Regions from separate parts of the Homo sapiens genome. Here region 2 is linked to region 1. Evidence: promoter capture Hi-C in 16 types of primary human blood cells and fetal thymus (Javierre and others, 2016). All regions are on one chromosome and are shown on one strand. The core of a region is centred on a gene start or on the middle of the fragment in contact, and the rest is flanking DNA. Distances in the headings are between cores, read along the strand shown. Region 1 holds the start of FXN (frataxin). Region 2 overlaps PIP5K1B (phosphatidylinositol-4-phosphate 5-kinase type 1 beta).

The links. Contacts are between HindIII fragments. The CHiCAGO score rates a contact against its expected background, and 5 or more counts as called.
Region 2: a fragment that was not itself captured here is called in contact with the fragment with the promoter of FXN in region 1 in 2 of 17 cell types (erythroblasts and megakaryocytes); the score reaches 6.6 in erythroblasts.

Annotation. Positions count from the first base shown.
Region 1 is chr9:69,033,313-69,038,970 of GRCh38, reverse strand. FXN (frataxin) reads right to left here and starts at 3,219. Exons shown (of 5, transcript NM_000144.5): 1 at 3,024-3,219. The coding sequence starts at 3,188. RefSeq lists silencers at 1,984-2,278, 2,861-3,330 and an enhancer at 2,651-2,700. The HindIII fragment of the contact is 18,212 bases long and covers 1-5,658 here.
Region 2 is chr9:68,838,807-68,844,500 of GRCh38, reverse strand. The region is part of intron 4 of PIP5K1B (phosphatidylinositol-4-phosphate 5-kinase type 1 beta); the gene reads right to left. Among named protein-coding and RNA genes, the nearest start is that of PABIR1, 62 kb to the right of the region's middle. The HindIII fragment of the contact is 3,961 bases long and covers 1,403-5,363 here.

The DNA of each region.
Region 1 (5,658 bases), core at 1,970-4,469:
TAGGAGACATTTAAGTGTGTTTGGAACAACTTGACTATGTGAACCTTCATTTTTAATTGTGAATTTTATAAAAGTAAATACAGATAGAGCATTTACTTAGAAATTGTGAATTGAGATATGCTGGAAGTATATGAGTACGAAAAGAGTATGCAAGATATCTTATTACTGATTTTTTTTGTATGTCACAGAATCCCCCAAAATCTTGGCTCACTGCAACCTCTGCCTCCTGGGCTCAAGTGATTCTCATGCCTCAGCCTCCCGAGTAGCTGGGACTACAGGCACCCACCACCATGCTGAGCTAGTTTTTAGTAGAGATGGGGTTTCACCATGTTGGCCAGGCTGGTCTTGAACTCCTGATCTCAGATGATCCACTCGCCTCGGCCTCCCAAAGTCCTGGGATTACAGTCGTGAGCCACCGTGCCTGGTCTCATTACTGATTTTTAAAATACTGATTACATGTTGGAATGATAATATTTTGTATGTACTAGGTTGAATAAATATATTGTTGAAAATGATTTTTTTTTCTTTTTAACTAGAAAATGTAGAATTATGTGTGTGGCTCCCATTCTGTTTCTGTTGAACAGCTGCTTTAGAAGTAGATGCAAGGGGTGGAGAAAAGGGTGGGGAAGAGGCCTTCAAGTGAACTCAGTTTCTGATGAATTTTGGAGACCAGGGGGAGCTTAGGGTCAATCCAGGACAGTCAGGGCTTTAAAATAATTAAACAGGATGGTGGCCCCAGTTGCCACTGCCACCCACCCAACTCCTCAAATACCCAAGATGTGCAAGGGAACTATGGAACAGACAGGTTAAACAAATGTGATTAATTCAGTATAGAAAAAAAGAGGCCCAGCTGGTGACAGAGGTTGCTAACCATCTATCCAGAAACCCAGTGTCCACCTCCTGGGCGGCAGCGCCAAGTTGGGTGTGTTTGTCAGTCAATAGCCCTTAACAGCCACCAGGTACCATCTAAAAAACTGTACCACCTCTTGTCATTCTCCTAAATTAAAAACTCTGCTGATGGCCAGACGCGGTGGCTCACGCCTGTAATTCCAGCACTTTGGGAGGGCGAGGTGGGCGGATCACCTGAGGTTGGGAGTTCGAGACCAGCCTGACCAACATGGAGAAATCTGTCTCTACTAAAAATACAAAATTAGCCGATAATCCCAGCTACTCGGGAGGCTGAGGCAGGAGAATCACTTGAACCCAGGAGGCAGAGGTTGCAGTGAGCTGAGACTGAGCCACTGCACTCCAGCCTGGGCAACAAGAGGGAAACTCTGTCTCAAAAAAACAAAACAAAACACAACTCTGCTGACAACCCATGCTGTCCACACAGGCAGGGGTGGAAGCCCAATACGTGGCAGCTCAGATAGTGCACAGAAGCCAAGTAATAAATGTCTGCTTTCCTAGAGGAGATCTAAGGACCATCATGGCCACACTTGCCTATTTTTCCAGAGATGCTGGGAAATCCATTTTATTTTTTATTTTTATTTATTATTATTATTTTTTGAGACGGAGTCTTGCTCTGTCGCCCAGGCCGGAGTGCATTGGGCGATCTTGGCTTAATGCAACCTCTGCCTCCCGGGCTCAAGCGATTCTCCTGCCGCAGCCTCTGGAGTAGCTGGGATTACAGGCGCGCGACACCACGCCCGGCTAACTTTTCTTTATTTTCTTCTTCTTCTTCTTCTTTTTTTTTTTTTTTTGTATTTTTTAGTAGATACTGGGTTTCACCATGTTGGCCAGGTTAGTCTTGAACTCCGGACCTCAGGTGATCCACCTTCCTAGGCCTCCCAAAGTGCTGAGATTATGGGCATGAGCCACCGCGTCCTGCCAGGAAATCCATTTTCTAAGTCCTAACTTTTAAGCACTGGCAACCAATCCCAAAGTTTCTTCAAACACAATGTGGGCCAAATAACACGTGTGGGAAGTTCAAGCCTAAAGTACAAACTCCGGAGAGCAACACAAATATGGCTTGGACGTGGCCTGCCTCTTTCATCTCCCCTAATACATGCGGCGTACCAGCCACTCTGAAGGGATCCCCTTCCGCCTTCCTGGCCTTTGCCCAGACGGTTCCCTCCTCGTGAAACACCCTCTACCACTTCCTTGGCATCTTCAAGACCCTCATTAAATACCATGTCCTCCCCTTGAGGAATCTTCCTCATCCCCACAGCCATTCTTTGGGTTTCCTCCTTTCAAGCCGTGGCGTAACTGGGTCAGATATTTCTTTGTACCCCCCAAAGGAAGAAAGGGGAACTAATTTGAAGTTCTGAAGACTTTATCTATGTTATTCCCATTTAATCCTCACACCAGGTCCGCAAAATGGGCGTCACCTTTATCTTCTCCCTACAGAAAACAAAGCCACGTCTCAGAGAGGTTAGGGGAATCCCCCAAGGTCACACAGCTCTGCGGAGTGGGGCAGAATCTGGAATAAAGGTCGGGTCAGTTTCCAAAAGCCAGGGCCCCTGCTGCTCTAGCTATTCTGCAGCTCTGAAAGTTTCACCTCGTTCCAGGAAAGCATTTCGTTCAAAAAAATCCAGCCTTGAAAATATTAGGTGTGCGCGCGCCCGTGCGCGCAAACACACACACACAACACACACGCTATATACAGATACACACAGACACACACATTATGTGTATGTATATACTAGCAGATACCATCTATTAATATTACTGAAACAAGTTATCGCAGAGAAGTGACAAGCATGGAGACAGCCGCACACCCCTCGGAACCGGTCCCCTCCACCAGCCTGCCCTGCCTTCGCCCGTGCCTTGACCCGCAGTCGCACCGCAGGACAAAATGTCCCCTTTTCCTTCGGAAAGCAGAAGCCAGTGTAAATGCAACCGGGAGAACCAGAGAAGGGAGTTGCAAGGCCGCTTCCGCCGGGCCGCCCTGAGAAGGAGCGGGGTGAGCTAGTCCAGCGCGCGTACCCGGAGCGACCCCGGCGTGCGCGGCGCCTCCCTGCGCAGGCGTGCGGCGTGCGGCCCGCGGCGTGCGGCCCGCGGCTGTTCCCGGCGCGGATACTTACTGCGCGGCGGGGCGTGCAGGTCGCATCGATGTCGGTGCGCAGGCCACGGCGGCCGCAGAGTGGGGCCAACTCTGCCGGCCGCGGGACCCGGGTGAGGGTCTGGGCCTGGGCTGGGCTGGGTGACGCCAGGAGGCCGGCTACTGCGCGGCGCCCGAGAGTCCACATGCTGCTCCGGGTCTGCCGCCCGCTCCGCCCTCCAGCGCTGGGTGCTGCGGCGACCCCTGGTGGCCACTGGCCGCAGGCACTCTTCTGTGGGGGAGCAGCTAGAGGTTAGACCTCAGGAAGAACTTCCCAGCTTAGCACTATTCGTGCATTTAACAAAAATGGAGAGCCTGCTTTGTGCAAAGCACGGAGTGCAACCAGGACCCCTGACCCAAGGGAGACTGCAGCCTGGTGGCCCGCCGCTTCTAAAATTCTAAACAGGAGGAACTTGGGAGCTGCTGTCTTGCTGGGAAGTGGGTGCATGCACAAATTGAGGCTGCTTGGCCGCCGGTATGGGTTTACAGCAGTTGGGTATGTGGGGCCAGGAGACGGATGCCTTGTGTAAATCTGTACTCTGCCCACTTCCTAGCTGTGTGACCAGAGGGCAAGTTAATTAACCTCTCTGTGCCTTGTTTATAAAATGCGTTTTATAAAAGTTCCTACTTCATAGGATTGTGGTAAGGATAAAATGAGTTAAGCCCTGTAAAGTTTTTTTTGGACAGGGCATGTTCCTGTTAAGTGCACAATAAATATTGTTAATAGATTTTATTGATTGATTGATTGATTGAGACGGAGTCTCGCTCTGTCGCCCAGGCTGGAGGGCAGTGGTGCGATCTCGGCTCACTGCAAGCTCTGCCTCCCGGTTTCACGCCATTCTCCTGCCTCAGCCTCCCGAGTAACTGGGACTACAGGCGCCCGCCACCATGCCTGGCTAATTTTTTGTATTTTTTTTTTTTTTTAGTAGAGACGGGTTTCACCGTGTTAGCCAGGATGGTCTCGATCTACTGACCTCGTGATCCACCCGCCTCATTTATTTGTTTGTTTGAGACAGAGTCTCACTCTGTTGCCCAGGCTGGAGTGCAGTGGTGTGGTCCTGGCTTACTGCAACTTCTCCCTCCCGGGCTCAAGCAGTCTTCCCATTTCAGCCTTCCAAGTAGCTGGGACTACAGGTGTGCACCACCACACCCAGCTAGTTTTTGTATTTTTTGTAGAAAGGGGGTTTCGCTATGTTGCCCAGGGTGGTCTTGAACTTCTAGGCTCAAACGATCTGCCCGCCTGGGCCTCACAAAGTGCTGAGACGACAGGCGTGAGCCACCGTGCCTTGCCTATTGTTGATAGATTTTAAAAGAGAATTTTATTTCTGTTACATATTACAAAGGGATGCAAATTGTGAAAGTTTTCTTCACATTTTATATATGCTTTAGAGGATGTCAAATGTGAGCCGAGTGTGGTAGTGCATGCCTGTGATCTCAGCTACTCAGGAGGCTGAGGCGGGAGGATCACTTGAGCCTGGGAGCTCAAGGCTGCAGTGAGCTATGATTGTGCCTGTGAATAGCCACAGCATTCCAGCCCGGCCATCATAGCAAGATACTGTCTTAAAAAAAAAGAAAATGTCAGTTGTGTACACTTTCCATGGCAGAGAAGATGGGAAGGTACTAAAGTTCTTCCAAAGCCACTTTGTGAATCGTGAAGAGAGACATGTTTACATACTTAGGATGCTAAATGACAAGTGTCAAGAGGAATGTAAACTAACAGGTGTGAGTGTTGAGTGGGAGATTTATATAGAGCTAGGGATGGGGGAATCAAGGAAGTATTCATGGAAGAAGTGGTGTTGGCACAGGGCCTTCAAAAATAGGGTGGAGGAGGTGGGATCTGATTGCCTATCAAAGAGGTGGTCCAGGGCATTCTGGATGAGAGACATCCTTCTGTGTTTAATTAATTCTAGGCAGCTGCTTAAATACTGTTATGTATATGCCAGGCCTGGAGAAATCATTTTCCCCCTGCAAAGTATCTGGAGATGCTTTTGATTGTCACAACAGGCAGCTGTGGGGTGGGTATGTTCTACTGGCATCTAGTAGGTAGAGGCCAGGGATGAAACATCCTGTGATGTGCAGGACAGCCCCCCACCTGTGCAACAAAGAACTATCCAGTCCAAAATTCTGCCAAGATTGAGAAGCCCTCCTTGAAACCATAAAGGGAGAGCCCATAGGCATCAAAGGGTAGTGTTTTCATTGCCAGCCATGGTCTCAGACTCTGCCACACCAACAGTGAGGCCCTTCCTCACATCATCAGAACTGCATTATATACTCAGAGAGAGAAAGCTGCATCATTAGTTATTATTATTATTATTATTTGAGACAGAGTCTTGCTTTGTTGCCCAGGCTGGAATGCAGTGGTGCCATCTCTGCTCACTGCAATCTCCACCTCCTGGGTTCAAGAGATTCTGTCTCAGCCTCCAGAGTAGCTGGGATTGCAGGTGCCCACCACCACGCCTGGCTAATTTTTGTATTTTTAGTAGAGATGGGGTTTCATCATGTTGGCCAGGCTGGTCTCGAACTCCTGACCTCAGGTGATCCGCCCGCCTCGGCCGCCCAAAGTGCTGAGATTACAGGCGTGAGCCACCGCACCCTGTGCTACATCATTATTAGCTAGC
Region 2 (5,694 bases), core at 2,134-4,633, 190 kb after region 1:
TGACTTGATCCCAACAAGCCAGTCTTCTAGTGGCCCAGTCCCAAATGCACGATTATTGGCTCCTGCTGCTACAACACAAGTGGAAGTGCCCGATGCATAGTTGATTGCTCAATAGAGGGCTGCTTCCTTCCCCCTTGGTTCCCCCTTCCCAGGCATGATTAGAGGAAACTGTGGTGGGTTTCTGCAGCCCAGACCTCTGACCCCACACTCTTTCCAACAACGCTAACCTATCTGCCATCTAACTACAATGCCTTGCTCAGAGCTTAACTCAGTGTTGGCTGAATGACTGAGTAGATGATATTGAATGAATGAAGATCATCTCAATGCCAAGCTTCCATGAGCCTATGGACACATAACCCCTACTGTAAGGCCTCTCTCTTGTTTAGGCCCTGCAGCAGCCAACTTTCAAGATGTACACAAGTAATCAGTTATCAGTCTAAAAATGTTTTGTTCTCTTACATGTTTCTTGAGTCCGTTGCACAAAAGGCCTGGCCAACTACTGACTTTATCTTCACCTCCAGTATTCTGTGCTTCCTCTAACAACCTCTGCCTGTCTCCTGAGCCACACATCCAGCTTCCCCTCTTCCCAGGCCCATGTTGGCAGGGCCCGTGTCTGTGCAGAATCCGTTCATCTTTCTCCCAGTACGAATATCAGATACTTGGCTCCAGAAGGTTACAAGAAGGGTTGCTTGGAAACAGGTTGGCTTGTAAAAGAAACCTGGCATGGTATATGGCTGAGGGGAATTTTCTACAGTCTCGTTGGGTAAGGAAATAGGTTTTCCCAACAGGAGTAGAGTGGCTCACTCTCCGAATTTAAGTGAGTGAAAGAGGCCTCAGTCTCCTCCATTTACCACCACCAACCGGGGCTGCCTGACAGAGGGATGGGTGGTCCTGATGCTGGACTTCCAGTTGCTGATACTTAACGGGCTTGCCTGGTTATGATGTGTGGCCATGGAGGGGAATCACCTTGCCATCAGCCCTACACAATAAGCATGATTGGAAATACTTGTGTCTGTATCCCATGATATAATTTCTTTGGAATGTAACCACCTGGCAATGGGGAAAACCCCCAAATATGGAAATTTTTTTTCAAAAATTTAAAAAGGAACAAGGAAATACAAATCATTTTTACTACATTGGTCTGTGAGTAGAACATGGCGCTGAGGGAAGGCTCTAGCAGCCTCCTAGTCATTTCCTCCCTCCTTGGACTCTTTTCCTTTTTCAGACACTGCTGCCATAGCGGTCTTTGCCAAGACTTGTCCATGCTGAGGCCCAATTCCTCCCCTGGCATAGGGTTCCCTGACTGGGGCTGCTTGTGTAAAGAATGGATCAGGGTAAGGCACTCCTTAGTTCTTTGTATTCACAATCACCTTTAAAAATTCTATGTTTGGTTATCTAAGCTTTATCAGGACCCCAAAGAAAAACAATACATAAAAATCCTCAACCATAGGACCCACAGACGTGAAGGGCAGAGGGAAGCTGGTTTTTAACTCTGGTCACTGAGAACAGAGATCTGAGACAGCAAGTGTGGAAGCAATACTGGGACCACCTTGGCTCACTTCAGTTCACAGACTATACCAGGTATGTTTATTCCACAAGCCAAGCTGTTTCTAAATTAATCAACTGTCTATATAGCCTTCAAAGCCCAGTATCAGATAAGTCATAAATTCCTGTAGGCCAGGATTTCTCAACTTTGGCACTATTGACATTTTGGATTCGAGACTTCTTTGATGTGTGGAGCTGTCCATTGTAGGATGTTCAGCAGCATCCCCGGTCTTTACAAATGGTGCCTGTAGCACCACTTCCTCCAGACATAAAAACCAAAAATACCTGCAGACAGTAATAAATGCCCTCTGGAGGGGTGGTGAGCAAAATCAGCTCTGGTTGAGAACTAAGACTTTGTCTAAGTGCAAAACTCCCATACCAAGGTACATCCCCCTTCTATCTATAGGTGGAAGTACAACATCAATGCTTGTTGTCTGCATATATGCTATCCACATCAATGGAGTGTCTCATATTGTAGGTGTGTCAAGAATAATGCTTTAATACTCCACAGTTTTAACTCACATTTTGTTTCACCAAGCCAAGTGCAAAACACTTGAAGTGATATTACTATTTTTAAAAAACAACCTTGGGTAATTTGGAAAAGAAAGTGCACTTGCTGTTGCTTTTGTCATGATCCTTGTCTTTAAAAGTGCTGCTGGTGCAGTGTGTGTACCACTGTCCACCCTCCCTGCCTGTCCACCCTCCCTGCCTCCATGGACACATGTGCACGTAGGCACTCACGCAAAGGCTACTGTGTCCCACAGCAGATGAAAGCCGGGTTCTCAAGAGTAAACCAGGCAGGGAGTATATTAGCCATCCAAGCATGAGAAATGCCCAAGTGGAAACCAACATGAAGGCATCTTTGGGGCACATGGTTTGATGGTGTCACCCCAGTGAGTCCATCAGAAGTGCTGGAGATGAGTGCAGTGGGCTGAGAAACGCTGAGGGCCAGGGCCCAGGACCTGAGCCACAGTGTGGCTTTCTGCACTCAGCATACTCTTGGACAAGGGACTTAAGGTATTTGGGCCTCTGTTTTCTCGTATGTTAAAGAACGGTTTTATCAGAGCACTTCCAACTCTAACAGTCTAAGTTTCTAAGAATACAATGCAGAAAATGCCACTTCCACCCACCCTACAATCCTTCTTCTTTCTAAATTAATCATTTCTGCTATTTCCACCTCAAATGATGGTCACTATTCTCAATTCAACAGAAACTGCAAAAAACACACAGAATATTCAATTACTTTCAAGAAAAAAGGTCTGTCTAATCCTGTCATCAGAAATGATGACTTTTATTCCTTTTTTTTGTCCCAAGTTAAATCTCTGTGGATAGCTAATGTTCCATTTTCAAAGAACTATTAAAAAATCCATCTAAGTTTATCCAAACTGTGGGACGAAAGATGGAAAATACCAGTCCCATGGTACACATGAAGTCACTGGCCTATTTATAGCTCTCAACTGTAACCTAGGGATCACTTGACTCTATACCCCACGTAGAGATTTTCCATATATCATTTCCTTCTTCTGGACATGCTTCATAAACATGATCTGCTTCTGTAAACACCAAAGAAATAATATAGCAAATGGTTCTGTGGGAGATGCATAATAATCCAGGAAATGAAGGGGGCCACATCGTCTCCAGCAGTGAGTTCAAAATTTGATTTTGAAAATTCTGTTCAAACATGAATTGCTTCATGTTAACAGTAGTAACCTGAGCCACATTTGCTTTTCAGTCACAACGTGTTGCATTTGAAGCCAGGTTCATGTTTATGTCCCAGAAAGTGATTTCTTATTTATGTAAGTTGATTACAGGGAGACTTAGGTATTGAAGGTACATTTATTGAGCACATCGATTTTATGGAAGGAGTGAAGTAGAAAAGGGAAAGAGAAGAGGAGAAGGAAATACAGACCTGAGACAGTGATGTCTACACCTCAGGATCACAGTTGGTATCTACTGAGAGTACCAGACAGACTGACAGTAATGACAAAGGCATAACAAAGAGCTGCAGATGCACAGAGGAGGACATTGTGAAATTATATGGTGGCAGACAGAACAATGTCTCCCAAAGATGTCCACATCCTAACCTCTAGAGCCAGCAAATATGTAACCTTAGAAGGCAAAATATAATGTTACTTTACAAGGTTGCAAATACGATCAAGGTTGATGAACAGCTGATCTTGAGTTAGGGAGATTGTCCTAGACTGTCCAGGTGGGCCTAATGTAATAATATGGGTTGTTAAGAGTTAAAAAAAGAAGAGGCAAAGGAGCGGGTGAGTGAGACATAATGTAAGAGGGACTCAATCTGCCATTGTTGGCTTTAAAGGTGAAGGAAGCGGCCATGAGCCAAGAAATGTAAGTGGCCCCTGTGGAAAAGGCTTCTCTCCTAGAGCCTCCATAAGGAACACAGCCACACTGACACCTTGATTTTAGCCCAGCCAGAAGAATACTAAATGTCTGTTCTACAGAACTATAACATAATAAATGTTTTTAAGTCCCTAAGTTTGCAGTAATTTGCGACTGCAGCAATAAGAAACTAATACATATAGCAAGTGTGAAATATTTTCTTTTTTTTTTTTTTGAGATGGAGTTTCATTCCTGTTGCCCAGGCTGGAGTGCAATGGCGCGATCTCAGTTCACTACAACCTCCGCCTCCTGGGTTCAAGCGATTCTCCTGCCTCAGCCTCCCAAGTAGCTGGGATTACAGGCATGCGCCACCATGCCCGGCTAATTTTTGTATTTTTAGTAGAGACGGGGTTTCACCATGTTGGTCAGGCTAGTCTCAAACTCCTGACCTCAGGTGATCTGCCCGCCTTGGCCTCCCAACGTGCTGGGATTACAGGCATGTGCCACTGTGCCGGGCCGTGAAATACTTTCAATACTTTTAGGTCCTGTTTACTTGAGGCACCCGAACATTTTCACTCTTTATCCCACTAGCCCCAAGAGTTGATGCTAATTGGCACTGGGTTGAAATGAAGGAGACTGGCTTGCATCTGTGTGGTCCCAGAAAGTGGTCCTAGAGGACAATTTGTTGAATAAATGAATGGGTGATGAGTTTATAACAAGGAAGAGTACACACTTGGCCATCTGGGTAGAAAATGGTCTTGTCATGACCTCTCTGGAATGGAGACGACCATGGCTGGACCTAACAGGAATACAGCACCCTGGCATTTCTCCTCCTCTTTCTGCAAGACGTCTCCATCTCAGGCTCTGGTTACATCAGGGCTCCCCTAGGCTTGAAGGGCCGGTGGGATGGCAGCACAGTGTCATGTTTTATACACATTCAAGTTAATTTTCCTAAATTCAAACTCTCATGACAGATTTTGATAATTTTCTGTTGTATTCACTTTGCCAAGAACATAGAAAAGGGGGAGAAAATCTCTACTTTTTCCCACAGAGGATTAATCTTCCTAAACCTATAGAGTCATTTGAGTTCCTAATCCACAGGGTGTTTAAGGGAGGGTGGGAAAATATGCAAGATATTATTGCCTTTGCACCAAAGGGAAACCAACTCAGGTTTTCTCGAAAGGAGATGTAACCTTCTCCCCACTCTTTACCTTCTTCTCTTTCCCCGTCCCAAGGCATCCTGCCTGGCCTTCATAAAATGACTGCTGCAAGAGATGATCACAGAATAAAACAAACAAAACCACCACCACCAAGAAATCAAGAGACTTCAATGGCATTTAGCAGTCAACCACACCCCAAATTTTGCAAATGAAGAAGCATAGGCCCAAATATAACATGAAATTACATTAAAATTCTCAATAAAAGGAAAACAGAGATGAAAAAGCACAGACTTTCAGGCAAAAGAAACACAAGCTTTTTCCCCTCTGCCAAAACCAAAATTTCTCAATGATTTCAACAAACTGCCCACCCCAAAATAACTTGCAAAAAGCACTAACTCTTAAGATAATTTCCACACATTACTCTGGTATGGGGAAGTGATCAGTAGACCCATAGGAAGAAATTTTAAGACATTCTCCAAACTATAAGGAAATAAAATGATCCCATTCATCTAAACTGATATAAAATCTGAATTAAATAATATTTTAAGAGAAACATGATTTTATTATTTGCTAGTACTTGGAGTATCTCAAAAAGCTAACTGTGTTTACAATAATTGCCTTTCCATGGTCAGCTTAAATTATATGA